2 separate regions of the Homo sapiens genome follow, and region 2 is linked to region 1. Evidence: promoter capture Hi-C in 16 types of primary human blood cells and fetal thymus (Javierre and others, 2016). All regions are on one chromosome and are shown on one strand. The core of a region is centred on a gene start or on the middle of the fragment in contact, and the rest is flanking DNA. Distances in the headings are between cores, read along the strand shown.

The links. The method cuts DNA at HindIII sites, captures the fragments that hold promoters and counts their contacts. A CHiCAGO score of 5 or more calls a contact.
Region 2: a contact is called between a fragment that was not itself captured here and the fragment with the promoter of BTF3 in region 1, in 1 of 17 cell types (activated CD4 T cells). The highest score is 5.2, in activated CD4 T cells.

Annotation. Positions count from the first base shown.
Region 1 is chr5:73,494,684-73,500,838 of GRCh38, forward strand. It overlaps BTF3 (basic transcription factor 3), which reads left to right and starts at 3,759. Exons shown (of 6, transcript NM_001037637.2): 1 at 3,759-4,116; 2 at 4,451-4,519. The coding sequence starts at 3,985. It overlaps BTF3-DT (BTF3 divergent transcript), which reads right to left and starts at 3,637. Exons shown (of 1, transcript NR_186388.1): 1 at 2,870-3,637. RefSeq lists enhancers at 3,594-3,653, 3,684-3,983, 3,747-4,557 and a silencer at 4,194-4,243. The HindIII fragment of the contact is 2,385 bases long and covers 2,930-5,314 here.
Region 2 is chr5:74,756,929-74,763,379 of GRCh38, forward strand. It overlaps GFM2 (GTP dependent ribosome recycling factor mitochondrial 2), which reads right to left. Exons shown (of 21, transcript NM_032380.5): 3 at 3,974-4,058; 4 at 2,441-2,498; 5 at 1,921-2,018. Among named protein-coding and RNA genes, the nearest start is that of GFM2, 7.0 kb to the right of the region's middle. The HindIII fragment of the contact is 4,143 bases long and covers 488-4,630 here.

The DNA.
Region 1 (6,155 bases), core at 2,509-5,008:
ATGTTTATGGAGGTGAAATTTTGGGTAGGTAAGGTAGATTGGTACTCAGATCAATTCCAATTTCTTTCAAGTTTGCCTCCTTGTACTATAAATTTGGAAAGTTAAAAACTATATTTCCCAGATTTCCTTGCAGTTACCATCCTAGAAGTGAATTATTTTTGCCAACTAAGTACATTTAAGTAAGGTTTAGAAAGTGGAAGTGAGGCTAAAGCCTTTTTCCTGCTGCTTTGTTTTTGCTGGCAAGCATGCTCATGAGATATATTTTTTGCAGCAGCTTTCCAGAGCTCAGTCATTAGCTTTGTGGGTATTGAGTAGTACTTACTACAGTTATCTTCTTGATTCCTGAATTGTAGCTACAGTGGTGCATTCTTAACATCAATAATTCCAGTTGTAGGGTCCTGATTCTCTATCCTCCTAATGGGTGAAAACAGTTGCAGCAGGTCCTATGACAGCCCAGTTCTGGAGTGCAGGTTGAGTATCTGTTATGTGAAATGCTGGGAACCAGAAATTTTTCAGACTTGGGATTTTTTTTTGGAATATTTGCATTATGTACATACTGGTTGAGCAGCCCTAATCTGAAAATCTGTCATCTGAAATGCTCAATGAGCATTTCCTTTGAGCATGATGCTTGTGTTCAAAAAGCTTGGGATTTTGGAGCATTTGGGATTTAAAATTTTTGGATTAGGGATACTAAATCTGTATTATCTTAGGACTCACTTCTGACAGCCCAGGCTAAAGCCCACTCCTCCAGTCCTTCAAACTTTGTAAAGCACCAATTCCCTATATTAAATCCCTGTGTATTAAAAATAGCCAGATTTCCTACAAGTGAATGCAGAGGCATACAATTAGAAAATATATAAGTTTCCCAAATCGATCTATACAACCAATCCTAATCAAAATTTCAAAATGAAACAAAACCTAAAATGTACATAGAATATCTGCAAATCTGTCAGTCTCAAAAGTGAAAAAGGGAAATAGCCCTACCACCTATTAAGAATATTGAGTTGGCCAGGTATGGTGGCTCATGCCTGCAATCCCAGGCAGATCGCTTGAGGTCAGGAGTTTGAGACCAGCCTGGCCAACATGGTGAAACATGTAATAAAAAATACAAAAATTAGCTGGGTGTGGTGGTGGGCACCTGTAATCCCAGCTACTCAGGACACTGAGGCATGAGAATCGCTTGAACCCGGGAGGTGGAGGTTGCAGTGAGCCGAGTGCTCTGCACTCCAGCCTGGGCAACAGGATGAGACTAAAAAAAAAAAAAAAGAAGAAAAAAGAAAGAAAGAAATAAGCATTATATAAAGTGGATATTTTGGCTTTTGCTGAAGCTGACTCAAATCCAGCTGAGAGATGAAAACAATTCATGGACTTTGATTAGGCTATAAACTAGAAACCAAGGAGGGCAAACAGGGTTCACCTTTCTTGCCTTCTCTATTGACAGATACAATCTTGAGTGCTGAGTAAATGATTCTTAGGCTCCTTGAAGCCCAGCAGGAAAGCGTGGGAGCCAATTACCCACATTTGCCATAGACATTGGGAGCATACTGGAAATGGCTCCCACATTAGCACAAGTTACTCTTTTGGCATCCTTGAGCTAAGATTGCAATGTAATAACTTTTTTTGAAACAAAAAAATCCCATATTTTTGAAAAGTCTAGTATATAATTATTTTATTAGAAGAATCAGAATTTCCTGACTACTCATAAAACCAGCAGAAGCAGCTGGAGTCAAAAATCAAAATTTTGGCCAGGTATCGTGGCTCATGCCTGTACTACCAGCACTTTGGGAGGCCCAGATGGGAGGATGGCTTGATCCCAGGAGTTTGAGACCAGCCTGGGCAACATAGCAAGACCTCCATCTCTAAATAGAAAAGCACAAAAACCAAACCAAAACAGAACGTAAAAAGAAAATCAAAATTTTCTTTTTTACTATTAAGTAATCTTTTATATTTTCAACACGCAGCAAACTTTTAAATTCATGAAAGAACAGGAGAAAAAAGTAGGAACGAGGGGAAAATTAAAAAGTCATAAGCCAGGGAAAGTGGTGCACACCTGTAGTTTCAGCTTCTCAAGTGGCTGAGACTGAAGGATCCTTTGAGCGCAGGAGTTTGAGCCCAGCCTAAGCAACAAAGTGAGACCCCATCTCTTTTAATTTTTTTAAAGTTTTATATTTTTTAAAAAAATTATAAAAATAAAATTAGCAGCATCCCTGGTTTCAAAAAGTAGAAATAAATAAATAAATAAAAGTAGCTCACAATATTTCCTGAAAACAGGTGTATTAAAAGGGCAGAGGAGAGGGAAGGCAAAGAAAAAGAAAAAAAAGGTGGCAGGTTACATACATACAATCTTGTCTCTATAAAAGCTCAGAAAACATCACGTGACTAGGAAGTTTCAAATGCCTCCAATATAACATGGAGGAGAGGAAAAAAACTGTTCCTGGACAAAGATACACATTTCTTCCAAAAGGGGGAGTCTTTCTATATATTTTGTAATATCTCCAGAGCACAGCATAATGTTGGTACTGCCATTTTGGCCTTTGTCATTAGGAAGGTAACCCACATAAGCCTAACTACAAACACCCTTACCTGTACTAAAACTTCACTCATATTTAACTGAAGCAACATTGTTTTTTGTAAATATAACTGTAACAATTATTCTAAAAGGCAATACAGCTGTCCTCACCAGTTATGTTCTTGAGACATCAGTTGCAACAAACTTATATGTAAAAAGTATTCAAAAAGTTTAAACATTGATCTTAACTGGAGAGGGGTCTGCACTTGAACAAGTTTTCTTGCTACACACATTGCATTCTAAGATTTCGGACTCACTTTTGAATATGCAAAGACATTTCATGGTTAAGACCACAAAAAGGCTGATCAGAGAACATTTTTATTTAAATTGCCATTTTAAATATCAGTCGTTTTATCTTAAAGCTTGTCCTGGGTTTAACAAAGTTTAACTCACATCCACGCGTTGTCTCTCCAAACACAGCAGGCAGAAATTCTCCTTTGATTGGATTAAGATAGATAAAGTCTGCTTAACCGTGAATCGCTAATTGTCAAATCCATGCCAATTCGGTACCTAGGAGTCAATTTTTTTGCCTGATAAACAAGATAATTGTGTGGACCGTTTTAAGGTGGTTAGTCATCTGCTAAATTGGCTGAAATGCGGATTACCCAGTTCCTTCGTCGTACAGAGTTGCATTCTGAGGAGTGGGGCTCGGGGATACAGCCCCCAGAAATTCTGAACCTCGGTCCCGCAATCTACCACACCACCTAACCTTGGAAGGCCAAACTAACTTCACTATTTTTGACAAAATGCTTTGGTAATGGCTCATTCGGGCCGAGAGGGAAATTCTGCAATTCTCCAACCCACACCTCCAGCAAGGGGAGAGCTGCTTGAGTGGTGAGCACAAGCTGGGCACCTCCGGCGTCTCCAGGAAACGTGAATAGGCCCTTTCTTCGGAGGGCACAGAACTTCAGGATCAGGGCCCAATGGAGACTGAGCGGACTTAACCCTAACTGTGCACAGGACCGCGCTCTCCGACCCCTTTGTGGCCTCTCCCAGAGGTACGGGCTGCGCCCCAAGCCAGCAGTCTCTCGTAGGGCCTACAGCCGGCAGCCGCTGGAGCAGGAGGAGGAGAATAGGGACTCGCTGGACCATCACAAACGCTGTCGCGCGTGCGCAGGGAGGAACCGAGTTCGCGGCGAAGTCAGTTTCCTGACTCTTGAAGGAAGTGGCCTTGTGTCACTTCCGGCCTCCCTTTAGCTGCCATCTTGCGTCCCCGCGTGTGTGCGCCTAATCTCAGGTGGTCCACCCGAGACCCCTTGAGCACCAACCCTAGTCCCCCGCGCGGCCCCTTATTCGCTCCGACAAGGTACAAAAAGGCTCTGGACGGCGGCGTGGTAGGAGGACGGGAGCGGGGGCGGGAAGTTCCCTGAAGGAGCGAGACAGGGAGGGACAGGGCAGAGGAGGAGAGGAAGGCGATGCGACGGACAGGCGCACCCGCTCAGGCTGACTCTCGGGGGCGAGGTCGAGCCAGGGGCGGCTGCCCTGGGGGCGAGGCGACGCTGTCTCAACCTCCACCTCGCGGCGGAACCCGAGGACAGGAGCCTCAGGTACCGCGAGGCTTGCGGAGAGTGGCCGGGCCGGGCAGGCCCTGGCTAGGCCGAGGCCAGGCCAGGGCCAGGGGTGGGGGGTGCTGGCCAGGCGTGGGGTAGAGCCTTTCATCCGGGCCTGCCAAGAGCGGGGAGCTGTGGGGGAGTGGTGGGGAGGCGGGTGCTCTTTGGGCTCCCTGGAAACCCAAATTTGGAGCTTTGCGGGGTGGATTTGGGATCCAGGTTTCGGCCTGTGTAGGACGTTTATTTTCCTGCTGGTATCTTGGGAAATAACGAGCATGGAATGCTAGAGTGAGCTAAACCTATCCTTGCTGAGGATTTCCTCTTTTTCTAGATGAAAGAAACAATCATGAACCAGGAAAAACTCGCCAAACTGCAGGCACAAGTGCGCATTGGTGGGAAAGTAAGTTTTAATAGTTCGGGTTTGTGGGTTTTTTTTTTAAGGTTTAGGTATTTTAAAAAACATATTCCTTTTGCGCTTCTTATATTATCGGTGACAAACTTTGCCTATCGAGGGAAATTCACGGAGCTAGCAAATCTCGAGGAGCGGGGGAGACGAGGGTTGGAGACACATCAGTGAGACGAGCTAAAAACATCGCCTTTGTGTAAACATGTTTGTGTTTTCAGTGTTACAGAGTGTAAGTAGAACACAAAAGTGTTTCCTAATTTAATTAGTAAGGAAAATGTGTCATTTCAGTTAGATCGTTGTGCACATCATACCCTTGACTTGTTTTGGCCTGAGTTTTCTAAAGTCAGTGCTTGTTTGTCTCTCTTGTAAATTGAGACCTTTCTGTACTGCTTTCTGAACTAAATATTCTTTAGGGTAGTTGCATATTTCAAGGGTATTTGAAGATACGGGTACATTTTGGAGTTTAAGAGCAGTGACTATTAGATTTGAAAATATAACCCAAGTAGGTATCTTTCCTGTTCTGACTTTGTATTACTGTAAAAATGAGGGAATTAAAGTGACTGATTTTTAAATGATCAGTTTTTGATTAATTGTTTTTTTCCTGGTGGATACTGATTCACATCAAGGGGATTCTTTTTTGAAGCTGATTTTTAGATTGTCCTGTAATTAATAAGAAGTCCACTGTAGACAGAGGTCTACCTAGTTTGTATTGTTAGCACATTCTTAGTATTTAACAAGGTGTGGTAGCTTGTTGAAACAGAGCATGTCTTTACTTGGTAAAACTTGTAAAGCTTCCATGGTACATGTTTATTACCTTTTAGTTTTTCCCAACTTTAAGCGTTTAACTTAGAGTTAGCTGTGAGATAGCCAGAAGTTGCACTTAGACTTAAATAATAATATACAGCTTTGTTAAATTACTGAACTTTGCCAGCGGTGAATTTATCCTGATTTTTTTTTACTTTTTATTTTTGTTAACGTTAGCCATCTTCAGGATCCACACCCACACATTTAACAACATTAGATGTTTCTTGTCCTCTTTAATCAATTGTTATCAGACTGTGGCCTTCAAGTGCCAGCAAAACTCAAATTTTTTGTGTCTCAGTGTTTGGATGCTCTTATATTGGTGTTTTTAACCACTCTTACTTTCAGTACAGTTTCAGAAGGAGTAATTTGAATAATGTGCTTATGTGCAGTCTTTTTGTTGTTACTCTCATCATTAGGCTTTAACTTTGGGAGACATCATTTTAGGGTAAAGGAAATCTTGAGATTTGCTAGGATATTTAAAGCTGATAACAAGATTAAATTTTGTGTCCTAACATCTTAATACTCGTTTAGCTAATAATACAAGAAGTATTTCTGTAGTCACAATATGGAAACATTTCTACACTGTTTAAGAAACGTACTTATTATGGGATGTGAAATTAGGTGAGTTAATTTTGCTTTAGAGAAAACTGCAGGTGTTAGGTGCTCTTAGGTAAATGTTACAAAAGCCCTTTATTTTCATATCTAATCACAGCATTAATAATAATTATTTAAGTGAAAATTGAACTCTACATATGTGAAGTGTATGAAACCTCTAGAAAGTATGCTGGGTTTGTCTTTACAATCTTAGAAATTCCTTTGAGTTTCT
Region 2 (6,451 bases), core at 1,309-3,808, 1.3 Mb after region 1:
GAGGGGAGTGAGGGATAAAAGACTACACATTGGGTACAGTGTACACTACTTGGGTAATGGGTGCACCAAAATCTCAGAAACCACCCCTAAAGAACTTATGTAACCAACCACCTGTTCTCCAAAAGCCTATTGAAATAAAAAATAAAATAAAATAAGCCTTAGGGGAGAAAACTGTTAACCTAGTTGCTTTTTAGAATATAAAGTCTAAGATTATCTTTAATTATAAATATAATAAACCAGTTATGATAAAGACATAAAATTAAGGGCAATCACAGAGCAAATGTGTGTGTATATAAAAGAGAGAGAGAACATTCTATGTGGGTTCTATTTTTATATATTCAGTTTCTTGGCATCATAAGATTGTGTACATGTCTAGTTTACCTTACTATGAGAGCAAGATCTTGATATTCTCTTTTTTAACTGTAAATAAGTTATTGCCATGACTTTTGTAGGTGATTTTTCAGCTTAGTGACTATAATTACTGTAAAGCTTGATTTCCTTCTTGTTATAATAAACTGCATTAGTTTGAAATAAATAAATAAAAACACATGGAATATTATTCAGCCTTATAAAAGGAATCTTCACTTGAGCCCAGTTTGAGACCAGCCTGAGCAACACACTGAGGCCCTGTCTCTACCAAAAATACAAAAGTTAGCCAAGTGTGGTGGCACCTGCCTGTAGTCCCAGCTACTCAGGAAGCTGAGGCAGGAGGATCTCTTGTGCCCAAGAGTTCAAGGCTGCAGTGAGCTGTGACTGGGCCACTGCACTCCAGCCTGGGCAACAGAGCAAGAGCCTATGTCTCTAAAAAAAAAAAAAAAAAAAAAAAAAATTAAAAAATTAAAAAGGAATCTTGACACATGCTACAACATGGATGAACCTTGAGGACACTGTACTATGTGAAATAAACCAGTCATAGAAAGACAAATACTTACGATTCCATTTATATGAGGTACCTAGAGTAGTCAAAGTCATGAAGAAAAAGTAGAAGGATGGTTGCAAGGGACCGGGGAAAGGGGAAAATGGGAGTTGTTTAATGGGTATAGAATTTCAATTTTGAAAGATGAAAATGTTTTGAAGATTGGTTGCACAATAATGTGAATATACTTAACACTACCAAAATAGTTAACACTTAGAAATAGTTAAGATGGTAAATTTTATGTTTTTTTAACTACAATTTAAAAGACAAAAGATAACTTGGTTAAGGATTAACAAAATCCTCTTTGATGTGAGAATTTAACTTCTGGTTACTTTTTTTGGTTCTTTTCTTCTAGAAACCAGATAACAGAGGTATGTCAACTACATTCCTAGGCAATATAACTTATGGAAAAAACAACTTCTGATTGGTAAACTAAATCTGAATTGCGAAGAACTATAAATGAATTATATATATAAGTACCTTATGGAGATACCGAACTCTGGGCTTCCCTGTGTATGGCATGTACCTTAGGTGACACCTGGAAGCTATGCCTATGAAGTTATAACAAGAGACATTCATTCCTATGGGGCATGAATCTTCTAAGCTAGGGTGGCTCCTATGAATCTTGTCACCTTGCATCTAATCCATTACTCTGGAGCAGCCAAAGAAGATAGCTCCCAGATAGCTACGGGGACTGCTATAAGGACTCTACTAGAAAGAAACACCTAATGCTGGTCTGTTGGTAAGCTGTGGTTCCTGTCCTGTAGCATTCTGAGTAGACGAGTGTCCAGTGGGGCCTATGATAGTCTTACAAGTCTGAATATTTAGTTGAATCTAAGAAGACCCTTTGGTGGGTATTGCAACTATCTTATCTTTAAATTGTGGATTAGACATCAGTAGCTCTATGCCATATTCAAGGTGTGTAAGTTGACTTGTTAACCAAAATATTTTCCAATGATGCTTTTGCTAATGGGGGGGTGGGAAGAGGAGGAATCCATTCTAACCTCCCAGTGATCTTGTATATCCGGAATAGTACAATATTCTTTCTGTGGTGGTAGTTTTGCCTGCATCAATATGAGCCATAATTCCAATATTACGGATTCTGTTTAAAAGGAAAAAATAAGGTAAACTTTACTAAAATTGTAAAACCAAAGTATATATGCTATCCAAATTTCAAAGCTGGTATTTCTATAATTTATAAAACTGTGTAAAAACTAGAAAAATGGAAAACATTTAGAGTATATCCACATTACTCTGATAAGATAGCTAAGTAACAAAAGGGCTAACTACAACCTACAATTTTGAGACTATCTTATATTCATTCTAGAAAAGTGTGCTGTTGTTACATTAAAAATTTTTAGCATTAATTGAGAAAAAATAGCTAAGATACATTATCAACATCTACTTAAAATTGGCTAGGGCAGAAAGTCATAGAAATTACAGCATTCACTCTTGTCCATCAGAAAAAACCTGTAAATTTTCGTGACAGTCTATGGAAAAGCATGATATAATGATAGTACTTACTTAGCTATGGGAGGATTGATGATGGAATGAAGGGATTTGATATCATTTCCTATTAAGCCTAATGAAAAGAAAGTTAAAATTGAACTGTTACATTTATGAAATTTTCCTTTAATTTATAAATGAAAGACTTTAAAATAACTTTAAGCAAATACTGTAAGTCCAAATAAAGTAAAATTCAAGCTAAATAAATCTAAAATAAACTAAAATTTATTTCCTTGCAATGTATAAGGAAAGCTATGGATGACAATAAAACAAGGTAAAAGTTTTAAACATCAAGTTCTAGATCATATCCTCAGAAAAATACAGATTCACCCCAATCTCTGCCACCTACTTCACTTCCATTTACAAAATTGTAGAACTAGAATAAATGCTCATAATAATAATCTTAAGGCAATGATCCTGAATCAAAGAAAAAATTTTAAATGCACAGTCCTATAAACCTGCCTTTTCCAGGGTTTGAAGAGCTAAGAGTGATCCTCATGTCAGCTGATAATGAATTATTATACAATTTGGAACTTGCCTTCCTCAGCAATCCCAGGACACAATACCTTTAAAGACTGCCTGGGAGGTTTCACTGAATAGAAGCTATAACAATTTAATACTTTTGAAAGGCCAAGCAGTATTTCTTAAATAAAAAAGTCCATATGGCTTATTCTATGCTTAATATATAGTTTACTAATATTAAGAAGTAATTTCTAAAGAAACAAGGCAGTTACATTTGTAAATTTAATTAAAGCCTTCCTGTTATTTAAACCATTTCTCCCATGTTTCTATAATACAAAAAGGAGAATTTTATATTATTTTTGAAACTTCATGGTGGTTTGAAGATCAAAAGATAATCTATACTACTACAGTTAAATTCATATTAGCCAAATTCAGAGACCTAGATACACACCAATAACGTAGCCCATTAAATTAATCTGCCCTTGTAAGTCAACAGCCAATCAGTATTTTTATTCTATTATTCTCACATGACAAACACAGTAATGAGAACAGCAACAGAATTAAACTAGTTTCATAGAGTCTACCATACACTTGCTTGTTTCAAACACAGAAAGGACATTCAAAAGTAAGTCAACTCCTCCACCTTCCAGCTTCTGATGCCATGTATCTAACCTAAACAATCCCAAATACTTAGCCAAACTACTTATAACAATCCTCAAAATAAATTATTCTAGTAAATCTCTCTTGACAGAAAACACTTGCATAAAAAACAGAAATAAACTAGAAAAAGAAATTCACAAGAGCACTCTACAATTACACTCACATGTTAAACTTGCAAACTAGCTACTAAAGCCACCAACCTTTCCTTTGCTCAGTTCATCAGCGTGTTCCTCAGATAAGGAGCACAACTCTACTAGTATTTCCTTCTGGCACCTATCTGAACACTCCCGCCCCTAATAATCTCAAGGAAATAGCCAAGAAGTAAAAAATGGTTACAGAGCCCTAATAAGGGAGATTCTTGCAAACAAGAGAGAGAAAAGAGATAAAGCAAACAGCTTAGATAAAATTAGAAGACTCTAACATTTGTACCTGGTAGAGAACTGCAATTTCTTCCAAGCGGCACATGTGGCTTTAATCTTTTTAAACTTGCTCTTATTTTATAGCAGCATATATTCTAGTAAAGAGAAAAAGAAACTTGGCATTAATTTTATTTTAGCATCACTTATTACAGTGTTAATATTGTAATTACGCTTTGTCAGAAGATAAAATATTTTGTATAGCTTTAAAGTAGTCCTAATTTATTAACTCCAATTCTTTTAAAAAGTGACAATCCAAATATATCCTAGGGGAAAGAATAAGGATAAAATTAATACTGATTTGCTATTTTGAGCTGACCTTAAAACAATGGTTTTCCTCAACCTGCAGCATTAGCATGGGCTGAGGGCTTGTTTGAAAAACATGCTTAGGCTCCAATCCAGACAAGAGAATCAGAAACTCTTGGGGATGGAGCCAAACAATCTGTTTAAACTAGCTCTCCAGTTGATTCTAATAGCTACAGATTGAGAACCACAACCCTAAAGTTCTGAAAGTCAGAAGCTGAGTCAGAAAGGTTAAATAAGGTATCTCACCCAGGATACACCTTGGTTTTCCTCTACATCTGCTGAAAGGTCTGTAGGGGGCAATGAACTCTAAAACCATTAGTTGTTTTCAGGATTTATTACAGTTACACATTAGAATCATCTGGAAAGCTTCTTGAAGACACGGGGGTGGGGAGAGAAAATGAGAACTGGAGGAACTGGGCAGTGGCATTTAAAAAAAATTCCCAGGGTGTCTCCAATGTAGCATTCAACTGAGAATCACTGAGTTAGAGCAGGTCTGCTTAAGGCCAAGCCTACCTCCTCTACCTTAGCTGCTTACCTAACCTTCTCATGTTCTCATGTAAAGGCTGAATATTCTCCACCTCAGTTTATGCCCAGACCACTAGATATACATTTAATAGCTGCCAATGTAGTTGGAATTGTTAGTGTATGTAATGATTTAGGGCCACCACAATCTGCTTTTTGTTTCATGAACTGCGTATCTGTGCGATCTATATTATTTCTACATTAGTTACCAAGTTTCTGGCAATAATAAGCTACTATCCTCAGAAAATAATTCCACTGCATAATGACTAGGATAAGACCCAGTGTCTATCACAGCGTGCATAGTCTGAAAGCGTCAGCAATAAAAGCACTGAAGAAAAACTGGGTAACTCCTTGGGCCACTTAATGAGATCACAAATGGAATACAGAAATATATCTTCTTCAAAATGCTGCTCAGGTGATTTTTAAAGTAGCAAAAAAAAATTGTAGATGAATGGTAAGGCTTCTTAGCAACAACAACAAAAAAACTGTAGACGAATGGTAAGGCTTCTTAAGGGTTACAGGTTCTCCCATACAGCAGTCACACCCTATCCACAGGGGTTATATTCCAAGACCCCCAGTGGATTCCTGAAACCTCAGATAGTACAGAACCTAATTACTATCAATCAGAACATGGTTCTGTTCATGTCTTCTGCCCACAAACTGAATACCTTTTCCATCTTAACTGAGCTCTTATCATGTTATGTGACCATAATTTTTGTAGTTTGAAGTGCAACAGTAAAACTAGCAAAAATGTCTTTTTCTTTCTTCACAATTTCATGGATAGAAGATTCATTCCTACCATAGATCTTAGCAACCTCAGCATATGATTTGTTTTTTTCCTTATTAAGCCAAGAATGTTCACCTTTTCACTTAAAGGGAGCACTTTATGGCTTCTCTTTGGCACATCCAAATTGCCAGCATCACTACTCTTGCGCTCTGGGACCGTGATTAAGTAAAATAAAGGTTACTTGAACACAAGCACTGCAGTATCACAACAGTGAATCTGATAACCCAGATGGCTACTGACTCATGGGTGGGGAGTGTATACAATGTGGATATGCTGGGCAAAGGAATGACTCACCTCCCAGGTGGGATTAAGTGGGATGGCATGAGATTTCATCACAGTACTCAGAATGGCACACAATTTAAAACTTATGAATTATTTCTGGAATTTCCCATTTAATTTTCAGACCACAGTTGACTCTGAGCAACTGAAACAGCTAAACAGCAAAACCATGAATAAGGGGAAACTATTGTACTCCCTGTTAAGTCACTGAAGATAAAAAGAAACAACCCAAACAAGCTTTAAAGTAATCTCTCACTTAGCTATAGATAAAAAGGGTATTATTATGTTTGAGATTTAATATCTTTAAGTATACTGAAGATGTGATAGTTTAGAAAATAATTTATAGTGTTTTGAAGAGGATTCAGGAGTCAGACCAGAGCTAAAGACTAAAACAATGTTCCTGAGACAAATATCAGACTGCCGAAGAAGCTGGCTTCCAACAGCTCTGCAGAAGACAGCCAAAAGTAGTTGTATCAACCATTGTATAATTATGTTGTACTTTGATATTAACAGAAACTTTATTTCATAAGAGTCTCAATCCATGGATACTTAATATTACAAAGCACATTATTTGTTAGTAGTTTAAAGATGTGCATT